4 separate regions of the Homo sapiens genome follow, and regions 1, 2 and 3 are each linked to region 4. Evidence: promoter capture Hi-C in human tissues and cell types (Jung and others, 2019). All regions are on one chromosome and are shown on one strand. The core of a region is centred on a gene start or on the middle of the fragment in contact, and the rest is flanking DNA. Distances in the headings are between cores, read along the strand shown.

Region 1 (4,070 bases), core at 1,564-4,063, 200 kb before region 4:
GGGTCGCTTGGTGATGGCACAGGGCCAGTCCTAGTGCTGCGAGCTGGGGTGCAAAAGAGAGGCAGGTTCAGCCTGTCAGCCCCAGGCTGTGATGGGTGTTTGCACAGAACCATTTCTCTCTGGTCACCTTTCTCCTACTGGTGCTTGTTGACGCCTCAAGGCTACCCTCCCAAGGGAGCCCAAGATCATAGAGTTATAACACAGACAACAGCCCCTTGGGCCACCAGCGGCATGGGGGACTCATGCAGGCCCATGGTCTGCATTTCTGAGACTCTCTGCTTCGAGCATGCTTTCCATCCATCATCACGGAATCCTCACCAGCCTCGTTTCCCATGCAAGGCTGCTGAGATTAGAAGCAAAATGACTTGCCTGATGCCAGGTAGCTACCAGGTGGCCAGGCTGGGGTTGTTTGTTTGTTTTCTGAGATGGGGTCCTGCTATGTTGCCCAGGCTGATCTGGAACTCCTGGGCTCAAGCAATCCTCCTGCCTCAGCCCTCCAAGTATCTGGGATTACAGGCTATGGGTATTTTTTTAAGTGAACTTTTTATTGAAGTACAATGTACATGTGGAAAACTGGCAGCTCCATGAAATGTTCACAAAGGGAACTCCCCTTGTAACCAGTAGCCAGCTCGAGACAGAACACTACCCCCCAGGACCCCACCTTGTGACCCCTTCCAGTTCCTATCCCCAGGGCCAGGACTAGGGGGAGACAAAAGAGGTGTCTGGGGCACTCACTCATGGAGTCTCACTTGCATGGCCAGGAGACGGAGGCCAGGCCTCCCTAACATCTACACTCCAGGAGCCTCACCCACCTCCCCTCAGTCCTGGCCCTGCCTATCGCCCTCCAAGGGGAACTGCTTTCTGACTTTTTTTTTAGACGGAGTCTCGCCCTGTTGCCCAGGCTGGAGTGCAGTGCCACAATCTCAGCTCACTGAAACCTTCACCTCCTGGGTTCAAGCAATGCTCTTGCCTCAGCCTCCTGAGTAACTGAGACTACAGGCGTGCACCACCATGCCCAGCTAATTTTTGTATATTTAGTAGAGATGGGTTTCACCATGTTGGCCAGGCTAGTCTCAAACTCCTGACCTCAAGTGATCTGCCCACCTTGACCTCCCAAAATGCTGGGAGTGGTAACGGGCGTGAGCCACTATGCCTGGCCTTGCTTCCTGGCTTCTATCAGCACAACACTAGTTGGGTGTTTTTTGACTTCTTGTAAATGTTATCATGAGGCTGGGCACAGTGGCTCATGCCTGTAATCCCAGGCATGAGGCCGAGGTGGGCAGATCACCTGAGGTCAGGAGTTTGAGAACAGCCTGACCAACATGGCGAAACCCCATCTCTACTAAAAATACAAAAATTAGCCAGATGCAGTGGCACATGCCTGTAATCCCAGCTACTTGGGAAGCTGAGGCAGGAGAATCGCTGGAACCCAGGAGGCTGAGGTTGCGGTGAGCCGAGATCACACCACTGCGCACCAGCCTGGGCCACAGAGTGAGACTGTCTCAAAAAAAAAAAAAAAAAAAAAAAAGTCATCATGAAGGCCATGCTCTTCTGTTCTGTATCTGGCTTCCTCCATTCATCAGGAAGCTTGTGAGACTCAGCCCTGCTCTTGTATGCATTGTTGTTCTTCATTCTTGTTATGTAGTATTCCATTGTGTCGTTAGGTCACAAGGCACACATCCATTCTACTGATGTTGGACATTTGGGTTGTTTCCAAACAATGTGCTCAAGCTGGCTTGTTTTGTTTTGTTTTGTTTTGTTTTGTTTTGTTGAGATGGAGTCTCACTCTGTTACCTAGGCTGGAGTGCAGTGGCGTGATCTTGGCTCACTGCAAACTCCGCCTCCCGGGTTCAAGCGATTCTCCTGCCTCAGCCTCCCAAGTAGCTGGGACTAGAGGCACGCACCACAGTGCCCAGCTATCAAGCTGGCATTTTTAGCACTACATTCCATCCCTGGGTTCTGGTCATAGCTGGGTGACTTGGGGGCAAACTAACATTTCCCCACCTCCTGGGCCTTGGCATACGCATCTGTGCAGTGGGGAAATGAGCCAGGTCAGGAGCTGGAAACTCATGTGCCCACAGGGCCCACTTAGACAGGTAATGTGAAGGAGCTGACGCTGCCTGGATGGAGCTGGGACACCCAGGGTGCAGACGTGGTCAGGGCAGGCTTTCCCCAGCACCAATGCTCCGGGATCCCAGGCGTGTGCCAGCCCCACATGAGGCACTGCACAGGCTGTGCATGGATCCTAAGCTATCGCGTGTGCTTGTGTGTGCAGCCAGCTCAGTCCCATGTTTGTTCACATACATGTGGTCACCTGCAGGTGGCTGGCCATGTGTCTGGCAGCCCGCCCACATGCATGCCCGCTGGTCTGCGCCTGTCTGGGCAGCAGACGCAGCGGGTGGGGGGGAGAGTCTTAGCTCACACATCCAAGCAACACCACGAGCTGTGGCTTCCAGCTTATCTTAAAATAGCAACAGCTGAAGAAACGAGGCCACACAGGGCCCGGGGGAGGGATGAGTGGAAGGTGGCGGGGGAATGGCTCAGAGCCCCTGCCCAGCCCTGTCCCTGAGCCTCCAGCTCCCTTCAGCCCAGGGGAGCCTGAGGGTTATCTCTGGGGTCCCGATGCCCAGCACAGAGCCTGACACAAAGGATGAGGCATAAGCTGGTGACTGAGTATCCAAATGGTGGAAGTGTGGAGGCTGCCAGGCATTGGGGGAGCGGCGTGGAGAGCCAGCTCCCACTCCATGCTGCCACTTCAACTGTGATTCGGGGGAATTTCCCCCTTCACCTCCATCCCACTTCCAAGGCACTCCAAATAAATAACTGAATTAGAAATTATCCTTGCTCTGCCAACCCACCCTAGCCTTCCCCACTCCAACCCACCCAAAGCTTACCACTGTGGGAATTTGGGGGGCATCCTGGCTGTCCTCACGAGTCCTGACCTTTTCTGCCCACAGCCAGAGGAAGTGGCCCAGGAAGCTGCTGAAGAACCACTGATTGAGCCCCTGATGGAGCCAGAAGGGGAGAGTTATGAGGACCCACCCCAGGTGAGGGGGCAGCAGGGCTGGGCGGGACTTTGGGAATCCAGGATGATTGCTGCCGTCCCTAGCTGGGGTGGGACATCCCTGGCATGAGATGGTTGGGCCAGGGAGCTTGACATCCCTCTTCTAGAACCCAGGCCCCAGGAGGTGGGAGCAGGGAGGAGAGGGCAGATAGGGTCTAGCGCTGGGCCCCAGGCACACCTGCCCAAGAATTCTCTGTTGTCCCCAACTTCCAGGCTCCTCCCCTGCCCAGGAAAAGGGGAATGTGCTATTCCTCCTTCAGGGAGAGGGTTCTTGGGCCGGGGCTTGGCCACTTGGTCTCAAACTCCTCCTCCTTTTTGCTCTTCTCTACTCCACCCCCATCCCGGTGATGCAGGAGGAATATCAGGAGTATGAGCCAGAGGCGTAGGGGCCCAGGAGAGCCCCCACCAGCAGCACAATTCTGTCCCTGTCCCTGCCCCGCCCCCCAGAGCCAGGGCTGTCCTTAGACTCCTTCTCCCCAATCACGAGATCTTCCTTCCGCTCTGAGGCAACCCCCTCGGAGCCTGTGTTAGTGTCTGTCCATCTGTCTGTCCTACCCGCCCGCGTCCAACCCCGGGGCATGGACAGGGCCAGGGTTGCGGTCGCGGCTGGGAGCCTCGCCCCTCCAGTGTTGCCTCCTCCCATCCAGCGTCTGCGCGGATGTAGCATGTTCTATGTGTTTTTAAACGAAGATCCGAGCGACGGCTCCTCCCCGATCCCCGACAGTGGCTCTCCAAGCGGCCCCCGGGCAGCCCCAGAGCACCCCGCCCGACTCCCATTAACCTCGAGAACCTTTTTTTTTTTAACCAAAACCAGGAGCCAGGCTGTGCCATGTCCCCCGCCCCCCATCCCAGCCGGCCCGGTCCGAACGCGGGCGTCGTGTGTTGTGATTGTGGCATGGAGAGTCCCCATCCCCCCCATGTGAGCGTGTCCCGGGCGGGTGGGCCCGGCCGCCCCCGAGAGTCCATGAATAAAGCTAATCTGTCTGTAGCCAGAGCCGCACCGGCA
Region 2 (4,225 bases), core at 1-2,500, 230 kb before region 4:
GGCCTTCAGTAGCCATGCCCAGCTCAAACTCCATGGAGGACCCAGCATCTGAAAAGCCCCCAGCTACCAGCTTTTAACCCACCAGCACCTGCCCCGCCCACCTGGGGCGGGGGGGGGGGGGGAGAGGGCGGGGCCATGGTGCACTGGGGGTAGAGAGGCCAGGCTGATTACCTCAACAGCAAGCATTTAGTGAGTGCCTTCTTCGTGCAGGCCTGGGGCTGGGGAAGCAGCTGTGACCAAGCCCCACACCATGGGGGCCAAGACCTGAAGGTAAGCGTCAATATTTGGAGCCTGCTCGAAGGGAAAGCAAGGTCTGCATCCCGTGGAGGGTGACCCCAGAATGTGAGGTGGACGGCCCTGCCGATGGCAGAAGCAGAGACACTGACATGGCCGTGGGGCCTTCTGGCACCATCCCCAACCTCACATCAGAGCAGGTATTCATCTGGTCTCTGGAAGCACCTGAGTTTTTTTGTTTGTTTGTTTTTAAATAAAATATTCTTTTGACTAGAGATGAAGGAATCTCACTATGTTGCCCAGGCAACTCCTGGGCTCAAGTGATCTCCCATTTCAGCCTCCCAAAGTGCTGGGATTACTGGCATGAGCCACCATACCCAGTGGCATCTGAGTTTTTTAAAAGTTTAATCATCTGCCAACATTTAGACATAGGGGGGTTTTATACTAAGATTCACACTTTTGGTTTCTCTTGAGGATTTGGAAAGTTCCTCCCCGACTCACTGCCTCACAGGCCCCCAGTCCCTTTGGAGACACATGAGGCTCCCCACAGCCCCCACCTTACCTCCTGCCCCACCTGAGTGTTCTCTGCCTGACCTGGATGGTGAGGGTCAGGGCTGCAGCCACACAGCCTGGGTTCTAGTCCTGATTCTACCCTGACCGCGGCCAGGCCTGAGCTTCATCGAGTCAGTTTCCCCATCTGTAAAATGAAAATGTTAATCATACACAACTCAGAAGCTTGTTGAGGGTATTAAATGATATAGAACACATAGAACCCGTAGAACAAGGCCTGGCTTGTGCTCAACAGAAGTCAGCTGAGGGTTCTCCCAGGTTGGGGAGGGTGGGGACTGGGATGGGGAAGGAAGGCAGGGAAGCTTTGGACACCCTTTATCGGCCTTCTGAACAACCCCTTTTCTGTGGAGGCTGAAGGCTCCCCAAGTCCTTTAAAGTTTTGCCTCCTCCCCTTGGGCACTTTTAGGGTCCCAGACGTATAAAAGGCCCTGCTCCTCCCCCACACTTGGGGGGCTCGTGACCATCTGGAGGCTGAGTATTTGCTCAACCCACAGCCTTAAGCCCTGGTACGTGCTAGGCACAGGGTTAGGTGCTGCTACGGTGATGAGCGAAAAACAAGCGGGCCCTGTGCTCAGGTTTATGAGATTATGCATCCCTCAGACAATCTGTGTCGTCACAAACACAACCCACTGAAGGAAAGGGATTCGGGGATGGGAGAACCTAAAAAGTCCACGATCCAAGCTGGGGCTTCAGAGCGGCAGTTCTTAGGTGCGTGTATCAGAATCACCTGCACGGCTTGCTCATCACACGCTGCTGGGCCCTGTCTCAGAACTTCTGACGCCTTAGTTCTGGGCTTGGGCTTGAGGATGTTTCCATTTTATTTATTTATTTATATTGTTTTCAGGCAAGGTCTCACTCCAGCTGCCCAGGCGGGAGTGCAGTGGTGCCATCTTGGCTCACTGCCGTCTTGACGTCTCAGCTCAGGTGATTCCCCCACCTCAGCCTCCCGAGTAGCTGGGACTACAGGCATGCACCACCACGCCCGGCTAGTTTTGTTTTGTTTTGTTTTATTTTGTAGAGGTAGGGTTTTGCCATGTTGCCCAGGCTGGTCTTGAATGTCTAGACTCAAGCAATCTGCCCACCTTGGCCTCCCAAGTGCTGGGATTACAGGCGTGACCCAAAGCGCCAGGCCCAGGATGTTTGTATTTCTAACAAGTTCCCAGATGCTGCTGGCCAGGGACCCCGTTTTAAGAACCACTGAGAAGAAGGTCACTGAGAGGTGGTATTTGAGCAAAGACCTAAAGCATAAACAAGAAATAATAGGAAATAATTAACTGGGTCGGGGAGGGCATCTCTGGGAGTGGGAACAGTATGTGCAAATGCCCTGGGGCAAAGGGAATGTGGAATACCAGAGGACGAGAAGACAGGCCAGTGTGGGCGAAGCTAAAAGGGGAAAGAAATGGGTAAGCCTGATCCTAGGGGCAGTGGGGAGCCACTGAGCATTTTGAGCATGTACAGACTGGCTGGGGAGGCAATCAGATATGCTTTTCAGCAGGTTCTCTGGATTGCTGTGTAGGAAACAGAACCCTGTGGCTGCAAGAAGGTGTGGGGAAACACTGACTAGGATGCTAATGTAGTCGTCCAGGTGACAGAGGGGGCGGCAGAGAAGATGGAGAGATGATAATAGACTCAAGGGGTATGTAGAAGGAAAACTCAGTGATATTTAGTGATAGATAGGCCCTGGAGGGGTGAAGCACTGTGTCCCACTTATCTATTGCTGCACAACAAACCACCCCAAACTCAGTGGCTTAAAACAATAATCATCATTTATTATGCTCACAAGCGTGCAATGTGGGTAGTGCTCAGTAGGACAGCCCAGCTCTCCTTCAAAGGGAGGTCAGCTAGGGTGGCTTACAGGTTGGGGCTGGAGTCATCTGCTCACTCACACGTGGGGCAGCTGATGCCAGCTGTCAGCTGGAGCCTCAGCTGGGGGTGCTGGCCAGGATGGCACTGCGTGGCCTCTCCATGTGGCTGCTTGGCTTCTTCCCGGCGTGGTGGCTGGGTTCCCAGAGCAAGCATCCCAAGAGACAGGAAGCAGAAGCTGCCAGTTTCTTAAGGCCTGGGCCTGAAACCTGGCACCACATCAGACCCACTCTATTCTACTAGAGTCACAGGCCCAGATTCAAGGGAGGGGACATACTGCCACCTCTCAGTGGGAGGAGCATTGAAGAAATTTGGACAGAGGGAGCACTGGAAGAGGACCAGGCTGGGAAGAGCTCACGAATCTAGATTTTGTTGTTGTTGTTTTGAGACAGTGTCTTGCTCTGTTGCCCAAGCTGGAGTGTAGTGGCATGACCATAGCTCACTGCAGCCTCAAACTCCTTGGCTCATTCTCCCTCCTCAGCCTCCCGAGAAACTGGGACTACAGGTGCACACCACCATGTCTGGCTAATTTTCAATTAAAAAAAAAATAGAGATGAGGTCTCAATATGTGGCCTAGACTGGTCTCAAATCAGCCTGGGAGGGTTCAAGTGATTCTCCTGCCTTTGCTTCCCAAAGTGTTGGGATTACGAGTGTGAGCCACTGTGCCGGCCAGGAATCTAGATCTGATGAAGAAAAAGGAAGGAAGGGCTCCCCCCAGTACCGGGCATGGTCTTAGCTACCTTACAGCTGTGGCCCAGAGCCCAGCTCGGAAGGACCCTCCCAGCCACAGCACCCCTTCCCACCACTTCCCACAGCTTCCAGCCTGGGGAAGCTCCTGGAGTCTTGGATTGAGGTGACTAAGGAGAGACCTTAAGAGCAACCCCCCTGGCGCTACAGGCATCCTGGCCCCTCGCTGAGGCCCTTCCAAGTCTGTCTATGGGGGACATCTTCATGCTGGGATTGAACCAGCAGGGGCTCTTAAATCCCAGCCCTACCATCCTGTTCCTAAAATATCTTGAATCTGCCCATTCCTCTCCCTCCCAACTCCCCTGACTCCAGAGAAGCTGGTTCTGACCTTGGCTGCTGTGTATTTCCTGACACTCCACTTGCTTCCACTCCTGCTTTCCTACAGAAAGTTCTCCAGGTTCCTCGGGGGGATCATTTAAAATATTAATCTGGTCACGTAACTTCTTTGTTTAAAACCCAGGCCAGCTGTGGTGGCTCATGCCTGTAATCCCAGCACTTTGGGAGGCCGAGGCCAGTGGATCACCTGAGGTCAGGAGTTCGAGAGTAGCCTGGCCAACATGGTAAAACCGTGTCTCTACTAAAAATAAAACAAACAAACAAACAACAACAGCAACAAAACTAGTTGGGCATGGTGGCAGGCACCTGTAATCCCAGCTACTTGGGAGGCTGAGGCAGGAGAATCACTTGAATTGGGGAGGTAGAGGTTGCAGTGAGCCGAGATCGCACCATTGCACTCCAGCCTGGGCAACAAGAGTGAAACTGCATTTAAACAAACAAACAAACAAACAAACAAACCTCCAGGACACCCAGG
Region 3 (4,673 bases), core at 4-2,503, 180 kb before region 4:
CTAGAGAAGGGGAGTCCTGTTACCACCACAAAGGCGGATCCCAGGGCCTCGGGGAAAGCACAGCCGCAGTCTGGTGGCAAAGCAGAAACAAAGCTCCCTGGGCAAGAGGGCGCTGCAGCACCAGGGGAAGCAGGGGCTGTGTGTTTGAAAAAGGAGACACCACAGGCCTCAGAGAAGGTGGATCCTGGATCCTGCAGAAAAGCAGAGCCCCTTGCCTCAGGGAAGGGAGAGCCTGTGTCCCTGGGGAAAGCCGACTCTGCACCTTCCAGAAAAACGGAGTCCCCATCCTTGGGGAAGGTGGTCCCCCTGAGTCTGGAGAAGACCAAGCCGTCCTCCTCCTCCAGGCAGTTAGACCGCAAAGCCCTCGGCTCAGCCCGGTCTCCCGAGGGTGCCAGGGGCAGTGAAGGCCGCGTGGAGCCGAAGGCCGAGCCCGTGTCCAGCACCGAGGCCTCCAGTCTCGGCCAGAAAGACCTGGAAGCCGCTGGGGCCGAGAGAAGCCCCTGCCCAGAGGCCGCAGCGCCCCCGCCGGGGCCGCGGACTCGCGACAACTTCACCAAGGCGCCGTCGTGGGAGGCGAGCGCCCCGCCGCCGCCGCGCGAGGACGCGGGCACTCAGGCGGGCGCGCAGGCCTGCGTCTCAGTGGCCGTGAGCCCCATGTCTCCGCAGGACGGCGCTGGGGGCTCGGCCTTCAGCTTCCAGGCGGCGCCGCGCGCGCCCAGCCCGCCCTCGCGCCGAGATGCGGGCCTGCAGGTGTCGCTGGGCGCCGCCGAGACGCGCTCCGTGGCCACTGGGCCCATGACACCTCAAGCCGCCGCGCCGCCCGCCTTCCCCGAAGTGCGGGTGCGGCCCGGCTCAGCGCTGGCGGCCGCTGTAGCGCCCCCGGAGCCGGCTGAGCCCGTGCGAGACGTGAGCTGGGACGAGAAGGGCATGACGTGGGAGGTATACGGCGCCGCCATGGAGGTGGAGGTGCTGGGCATGGCCATCCAGAAGCATCTGGAGCGACAGATCGAGGAGCACGGCCGCCAAGGGGCGCCCGCGCCGCCGCCCGCCGCCCGTGCCGGCCCCGGCCGTTCGGGCTCGGTGCGCACCGCGCCCCCAGATGGCGCCGCCAAGCGTCCGCCCGGCCTGTTCCGCGCGCTGCTGCAGAGTGTGCGCCGGCCGCGGTGCTGCTCGCGGGCGGGACCCACGGCCGAGTGATCTGCCCCCATTTTGTACGCCCGAGTTTCCGACCTTCTCAGGCTCCCTTCTTGATCACAGGCCCCTAGAAGGGGTCCCCTCTGCGTGCCACAGGCCTCCGAGGGGTTGTGCAGCCTCTAGGGCTGTTGCGTCCCCGTCTTTCCAGCCCCTCCCATCACAAATACAGAAGAACCCCTTCTACCAAGCTCCCTCGTGGCCACGAGGCCACGAACCCGGCCAGCCCTGACGCCCCACTGTCCCCTCACAGCCCTCAGCTCTACTCCCGGTCACACTGGGCGACCACGGGGGCCTGCTCAGCACCCTCACCTCCCACCCCCTGAGAGCTGGGGCAGGCTCCTGAGATGTCTAGACTGGTGCGTTGTGGTCTCCGGTGGGGCCAGATCCCCAGAACAGGGAGAGACTGCATACAAGTCTGAGTGGCAGAAGCTTCAAGTGGGTGAGGATCGGTGTGTGAGACCCGCGAGTGGGCACGTCTCTGAATGTGAGGTCTCGGGCAGCACGTGAGGTAGAACGAGTGTGAGCGTCTCCACGCAGTGGCTGGCCCCGTGGCCGGGGCGTCTCTTGCATGCTGTTGGTGGTCCTTCCCCAGTTCCTATCTCCCACCCGCCTGGTTCCAGCCCCATCCCCTCTCCCACTGAGTCACAGGTTTGAGATTCCCAGAGAGGCCAAAGACAGCTACAGGAAGTACCCTGGGGGCTCAGCTGAGAGAGAGTCACAGAAAGGCCAGAGGGTCTCAGGAAGGTCTGGAGGTCACAGCTGGGCTCACAGAAGCTCTTGGGCCCTGGCATCCTGGGTGACCGGTGTTCTTGGGTATTGGGGACAGGACAGAGAGCTCATTCTATAACCACAGTTGTCTTTTAAAGGCCACCCTCTCCAGCCCCTTGTCCCCCCTGTGCTGTGAGCCCAAGTCCCTTGTGACCACTCAGTGTCCCGTCCCCACCCCTCCAGCCGCAGTTTTTGGCTACAAACTGTCACAGTATACATTGGTAATAAAATATTTCCCCAACCCCTGTCTGCCGTGATTGGCCAAAAGCAGGAGGCAGGGCAGCGTCATATATTTTCATCTCCAGGGAGACAGGTGCAGTTAGGGTGTGGTAGGGCCTCTTCAAGGGGTCCAGAAGAGTGGGGGCCCCTGTCACAGGTCCGTGGTGTCCAGGCCAGCGTTGGTGTAGGATGGCCCCTCCAGCTGTCCACTTGCGCCTGCCTGCCGTCCTAACAGGACCACGCTCAGGGGCTCTGGATCTGGCTCTGGTGGTGTGTGTGGTGGCCTGTGCTCCTGCAGGGAGAGGGAGAGGAGGTGTGAAGGGCAAGGCAAGGTGGGGCGAGTGCCCCAGGCCCTAGGGGAGTGGATGGGCTTCAAGCTCACGACCAGTGGTTCCTTGGCAGGGGTCCCACCCTGCCCCTCCTGGGGCCTCTGGTCCAGGCTGTGTCCCAGAGGTGGCCCTGGCTAATGGTGATGCAGATTAGGGGAGGGGGAGGGTGTGGCCTGGGGGATTCACTCTTGCCTTTGCCCTGCCCACCAACACTGCGGCACTCTGCCGTTCAGCCCAGTTCCAAATAATGCCAGGCCCTGTGTCCTGTGCCGAGGAGCCAGCCCAGCGCAGTTCCTGCCCCCTGTACCCCACGGCAGGCACCGTGTGGGTTGAGGTCCATCCATTACCTCAACTACCCACTGAAACCCTCTGAGGGAGGGAACATGTCCTCTCTTCACAGATGTGGAAACTGAGGCTTAGAGAGGTCTACTGGTGAAGAGGGGCAGACCACTGGTCTTGCTGGTTCAAAAGCGTGTCCATGATGTGACACTGCCCTGGTTGAATTTGACGTCTCTTTTTGCTGCCCTCAGAGGGACGCTGCCCACAGGCTGGTCCCACCTGCAGTTTATCATGGCACACACTCACTCATCTCTCCCGCCCTTCCTCTTCCACCTCGCCATGCGACATGCTGTGTGCGTGCACACACACACACACCCTCCTGTGGAACAGCCAGGCCCCCAAGCTCAGCTGCTCTGCTACAGAGACACCCACAGGGCCAGAGCCCCGGCCACCACCGCCCTCCCCAGGGCACTCCAAGGGCTTTTTCCAGACTGGGGCTGTTCTGGTCCCTAGTAAACAGTGGAACATCCGAGGGGCCCCAGAGGGGCTAAGCATTCTGCCTGTGTTCCTCAGAGCCCTCAAGACAGACCCCAAGTGGAGAGCTGCAGGCTCAGTGCCACCCACGATAACATGACCTGGTGCCAGAGACCAAAGACCTGGGTTCTGGTCTGCCCCTGCCCTGCAAGCTGTCCCACTTTGAGCAAGTCAGCACCCCTCTCTGGATGTGAATTTCCTTGCTGGTTACTTGGGGAGGTTAGAGTGATAATCTCTCCAGCCACTCACACCTACCACACAGACGTGTGGAGCTTAGACAAGTCAGGGCACCAAGAGATTCCTGGGAAAAGGATCCACCTGCGCCACCCCAGCCATGGGAGAGCAGGGGGCAGACAGCTCCCAAAAAGGCCCCATGCCTCGTGGACCTGCCCAGAGACCCGCAAGACTCACTGCTGCAGGAGACAGGGTGGAGCCTTGGGCAGCTTCTCAGAAATATAGCAACCCCCTGCCCTCCCAGGACATAATCTGAGCAATTTTCTGGCTTTGAAGACTTTCCGTGACTTGTCCCCACACCCTCTCCAGACCCTTCTCCTACTTCCCTGCCCCTTCCCAGTCCACAGATCCAGCCACACCTCAGGGGGTCCTTAACTCCACTCCCTTGGGTTAGGAGCAGCATCAGCCTCTGCCACAGGCCATGCACTCCAGTAGACAAGACTGTTCCTTCGCCTCAGTTCCCCAGACATGTTCATTAGAGTTTTGGCCACTAACCATCTCCTAGCATCTACCCAGAGGCCTCCAGCGCTGCCTGGCTGCCTGCATTACCACCCACACAACCATACCTGGGGCCTGTCCGGAGGCCTCTGTGCCAGATTCCCTGTACCGTGTTATACCTGGGCCCCTGTGCGACATTCTACCATTTTAAAGACCAAGAGAGGCTTCGGTTGACCAAATCTTTCCATGTAAGGAGTCCTCAGGGAAAACAAATTCTGAACCATGAAGTCAGGTTGGGAGCCCCTAGTGGCCTGGGACCCAGCCAAGCCCAGAACCCAGACTGGGGGAAAATGTGGGTGGATCCCCCGCAGCACCACACACAGAACCTCAGCCTATCACAGCTCCAATGGGCCTTAAGCGTCTCCTCCAGAGGTGGCTTTCAAAGTGGGAAGGAGAGAGGGCAGTTCCTTCTGTTTCCAGAGAGCCACCCCTCCATGTCCAGGACCCACCCCACACTCAGCCTGCTGACCCGCTCCAGCGGTGTCCACCGTGCCTGCACCTTAGCACCCCCTGAGCGGCTTTTACAACAGGTCCATGCCCAGGCTCCACGTGGGCCATCAGAATCAGAACTCTTGGTCTTTAAAATGCTAGAATGTTGCACCCATGGACCTGGGTGTG
Region 4 (4,239 bases), core at 1,086-3,585:
TTGTTTGTTGGTTTGTTTGTTTTTTGAGACTGAGTCTTGCACTGTCACCCAGGCTGGAGTGCAGTGGTGAGATCTCGGCTCACTGTAACCTCCGCCTCCCGGGTTCAAGCAATTCTCCTGCCTCAGCCTCCCAAGTAGCTGGGATTACAGGCACCTGCCACCATGCCCAGCTAATTTTTTGTATTTTTAGTAGAGACGGGGTTTCACTATATTGACCAGGCTGGTCGCAAACTCCTGACCTCACAATCCGCCCACCTTGGCCTCCCAAAGTGCTGGGATTACAGGCGTGGGCCACCTTGCCCAACACTGCAAACTGTGTTATCAGCAAGGTCTTTATGACTTGTATTTTGTGCTGACCTCCTATCTCATCCTGTGATTTAGAATGCCCTAACCGTCTGGGAATGCAGCCCAGTAGGTTTCAGCCTCATTTTACCCAGATCCTGTTTACGACGGACTTGCTCTGATTCACACACCTCTGACACAATCATAGCTCACTGCAACCTTGACTTCCCGGGCTCAGGTGATTCCCTCACCTCGGCCTCCTGAGTAACTGGGACTACGGGCACCATACCACCATGTCTGGCTAATTTTTTGTAGTTTTAGTAGTGATGGGGTTTTGCCACGTTGTCCAGACTGGTCTCAAACTCCTGGGCTCAATCTATCCACCCACTTCCACCTCCCAAAGTGCTGGGATTACAGGTATGAGCCATGGCACCTGGCTAATAAGCTCTTATCTGCAGAAAACCCTAAATATTCCACACACAAAAAATGTTAGAGCTAATAAATGAATTCAGCAAAGCAGCAGGATACAAAGCCAATGCACAAAAATCAGTTAAATTTCTATGCATTAACAATACGCAATCAAAAAAGAAGATAAAACTTCCACTTACAATAACATCAAAAAGGCCAGGTGTGTTGGCTCATGCCTGTAATCCCAGCTCTTTGGAAGTCTGAGGATGAGAGGATCACTTGAGCCCAGGAGTTGAAGCTGTAGTGAACTATAATCGTACCACTACACTCTAGCCTGGGCAAGAGTAAGATCCTGTCTCAAAACAAAAAACAAACAAACAACAACAACAAAACCATGCAAATGGACAGCAATAAATAAATACATTAATTTAATTAAATAAAACAATAAAAACCCCCCCAAAAACAGTAACATCAAAAGGTGCTCAAGTTGTTACCAATTAAACTGAAAGTTCCAGCTGGGCTTGGTAGCTCACACATGTAATCCCAGTGTTTTGGGAGACCAAGGCAGGAGGATCCCCTGAGGCCAGCAGTTCAAGACCAGCCCAGTTAATATAGCGAGGCCCTGTCTCTAAATAAAAAAATTAAAAAGAAAAAAAAAAAAACACCTGGAAGGTCCCTTCACCCCAACTCCACTTCCACCCCCAACTTGGCGGCACATCTTTCCTTTCGCTCTTCCAGTCCATATTTCATAGTTGCCTTTCAAGTCCCACATTAGAAATAGCAGACAGCCCAAATCCCATGGTGTTTCTTTGCATCGTCTCCCTATACCCCGTGTTTAAATGTCACAGCGCCTCACACACAGTGCTTTGACAGGCCATTTGCCATCTGTTGGTCTCACCGGATTGTAATCTCCGCATGGCCATGGCTGGATTTTATAAAACGTTGCTGTCCTGGTGCTTGGCAAAGCGCAGGCAGGGAGGAGGCATTCAGAGCCTGTTCACAGAGGGCAGCGGGCAGCGTGGAGAGTGGTAGGCTGCCTGGGTAAACCAGGTCTGCCTTTCTCAGGCTGGTTCATACCTAAAGGACATTTAAGGGGCCTAGCTGGCCATCCAAACTCTGGTCGTATGAACTGAAGCCTCCTCAAGGGAGATACACAAAAAAATACACAAAACAACACGGCCTAGTGGGAAAGGACCTGGACTTGCATGAAAAGGTGCGGGGCAGCCTTTCCCAGCCTCAATTTTCCTCTTCTTACAGAGGCGGAGGCTCATAGAATGAGGTGCATGACATCCCAACCTAGGAGAAGAAACTTCTGCAGAATGAATCAGGAGCCAGGTCTGCGCTCCCGAGGCCAGAGGTGGCCTCCTGTCGCAGCTCTGTGCACGGTACGGCCACTCTGTGCCCTGCGTTTCGCCTCCAGGCCGGGCGGGAGCAGTGCCTAGCCCAGGTGTCCTCGACGCGAGCAGCTGGGCGCCGCTGCGGAGGGAGGGAAGCGCCGCGCCGGTCCCGGGCCCAGCGCTGCGCCCAGTCCTGAGGCGCCCTCCTGCGGCCGCTGCTCGGCGACCTCCCGGCCCTGCGGCCCCGCCCCCGCGGTGACGTCACCGCATTCCGGCTCCGCTCCTCCCGCCGCGGCGCCCGCACCGCAGTGACAGCCAGCCGGGCCCGGTGGCGGAGAGGAAGTGCGGTCCGCGCCAAGCCCGTCCCCGCCGACGCCGGCTCCCCCGCGGCTCGGGTGACAGCGTCGCGGCCGCCGGACGCAGCGCGGGGCAGGCGCGGGCAGAGCCGAGCGCAGCGGAGGCTCCGGCGGAGGCGCGGGGAAAATGGCTGATGACTTTGGCTTCTTCTCGTCGTCGGAGAGCGGTGCCCCGGAGGCGGCGGAGGAGGACCCGGCGGCCGCCTTCCTGGCCCAGCAGGAGAGCGAGATTGCAGGCATAGAGAACGACGAGGGCTTCGGGGCACCTGCCGGCAGCCATGCGGCCCCCGCGCAGCCGGGCCCCACGAGTGGGGGTGAGTCAGCGCGGGGCCTGGAGAGGGGCTCAGGGCGCGCACCCGGGGGACCCCGGCCGGGGCCCAGGGGCACAGGGAAGAGAGCCTGCTCTAGGCCACCCGGGGCAGGAGCTGGGAGACGTGGGGAAGAATCTTCTTGGAGATCTCCATGTAGGACTTCCGAGCTGGGGATGAGGCCTCGCCTGGGGCTGTGGATCTGGTGACTCCCGGGACAGGAATTCGGTCATGACATTTCATCCCCAGGCCAGCTTCCCCACTGCCCGGCTCTGGAATCCAACCCCACCTCAGTTTTGAGAGTCCCTCCTGAGCCTCCTAATAGCCTGGGTGTCCCAGGCTCCCAGCTAAGTGTGCAGGTGTGGGCAGAACACAGCCCTCCTGGCCCCTCAGGCTTAGCTCTCTCCTGCAGCTGGGAAAAAAGAGGATCCTGGGTGCTCCAGGAACTCACTAACCTTCCCCGGTGACCGCCTGGCATTCGGCAGTCGCTGGGCTAAGCGCCTTGGTTACATTTAATCACTTCATACACGTGATTGAACCCATTTCAGAGATGGTAAAACTGAGGCTCAAGGGAGTATGCTATTGAAATAACTAGTAAGTGGCAGATCAAGAATTTAAACCTGTTTCTTTTTCTTTTACATATATATTTTTTCTTTTCCTTTTTTTGAGATGGGGTCTCGCTATGTTGCCCAGACTGGTCTTGAGCTCCTGGGCTCAAGCAATCCTCCCACCTCTGCCTCCTAAAGTGTTGGGATTACAGGTGTGAGTCACCACACCTGGCCGTGAATTTAAACCTGTTCCTGTCGGACTTGAAGCCCTCTCCACCTGACCACACTGCCTACCAAGTGTCTGGCTCTGAGTTAGACACCGGAGTGTGGGCCACAAAGAGGCATCAGTCAGATGCGGTAGGGCCCTTCAGGGTTTTGTAGTTGTCGACTTAATGGTTTTCCAAAGGTGGTCCGGGGCTATTATGATTTACTGTGATTGGCTTCAGACCTCAGTGTTCAGGGCCTAGTCCCTGTGAAATCATCTTTATCAATGATGTTTCTGCCCTGGTTCTGGCTAGCAAGAATGATTTTGTAAAATATTTAGTAAAAAAGTAGATATCACCTTCATGGGTACATCCAAAACAGGTTTTACTTCCTGTTGATGTCATTTTGGAAAGGTTTATGGGCCTGTTGTAGTAAGTGCTAACATATATACATATAGACATATTTTGGTTAATGATGTTTACAAGGCTCTTCACAGTCATGTTTGTATCCATTCAACGTTTACTGAGCACCTACTGTGTGTCAGGACGCTGGGGATACAGAAATGAATAAGACAGTTCCTGTGGCTGAGGAGTTTGAAGCAACTCTGTATCTCCTTGATATGAGAAATGTAACCAGGCTTTTGTAACATGCAAGAAACCGGTGGCCCAGAGAATCTGAGTATCTTGCCCAGAGTCACACAGCCAGGAATGACCAATCTAGGACTTGATCCCACGCCTCCCAACTCTGGGCTCCATGCTCTTTCAAATGCTGTGGAGCCTGGGCAACATGGTGAAAC

Evidence for each region. Contacts are between HindIII fragments. The study calls those that stand out against the background at their distance.
Region 1: a fragment that was not itself captured here is called in contact with the fragment with the promoter of CLTB in region 4 in 1 of the 25 tissues and cell types used here (dorsolateral prefrontal cortex).
Region 2: a fragment that was not itself captured here is called in contact with the fragment with the promoter of CLTB in region 4 in 1 of the 25 tissues and cell types used here (liver).
Region 3: a fragment that was not itself captured here is called in contact with the fragment with the promoter of CLTB in region 4 in 1 of the 25 tissues and cell types used here (spleen).

Annotation. Positions count from the first base shown.
Region 1 is chr5:176,620,191-176,624,260 of GRCh38, reverse strand. SNCB (synuclein beta) reads left to right here. Exons shown (of 6, transcript NM_003085.5): 5 at 2,958-3,047; 6 at 3,418-4,070. The coding sequence ends at 3,450. Among named protein-coding and RNA genes, the nearest start is that of MIR4281, 7.3 kb to the left of the region's middle. The HindIII fragment of the contact is 5,194 bases long and covers 217-4,070 here.
Region 2 is chr5:176,638,749-176,642,973 of GRCh38, reverse strand. EIF4E1B (eukaryotic translation initiation factor 4E family member 1B) reads right to left here. Exons shown (of 9, transcript NM_001099408.2): 2 at 809-931; 3 at 172-264. The coding sequence starts at 186. Among named protein-coding and RNA genes, the nearest start is that of TSPAN17, 6.6 kb to the left of the region's middle. The HindIII fragment of the contact is 5,153 bases long and covers 1-3,826 here.
Region 3 is chr5:176,593,332-176,598,004 of GRCh38, reverse strand. It overlaps CDHR2 (cadherin related family member 2), which reads right to left. Exons shown (of 32, transcript NM_017675.6): 32 at 2,181-2,473. The coding sequence ends at 2,333. GPRIN1 (G protein regulated inducer of neurite outgrowth 1) reads left to right here. Exons shown (of 2, transcript NM_052899.3): 2 at 1-2,203. The coding sequence ends at 1,197. Among named protein-coding and RNA genes, the nearest start is that of GPRIN1, 14 kb to the left of the region's middle. RefSeq lists silencers at 741-830, 971-1,130. The HindIII fragment of the contact is 5,900 bases long and covers 1-4,203 here.
Region 4 is chr5:176,414,635-176,418,873 of GRCh38, reverse strand. CLTB (clathrin light chain B) reads left to right here and starts at 2,335. Exons shown (of 6, transcript NM_007097.5): 1 at 2,335-2,697. The coding sequence starts at 2,511. It also overlaps a transcript of ARL10 not described here. RefSeq lists silencers at 2,043-2,502, 2,543-2,642, 2,753-2,832. The HindIII fragment of the contact is 14,544 bases long and covers 1-4,239 here.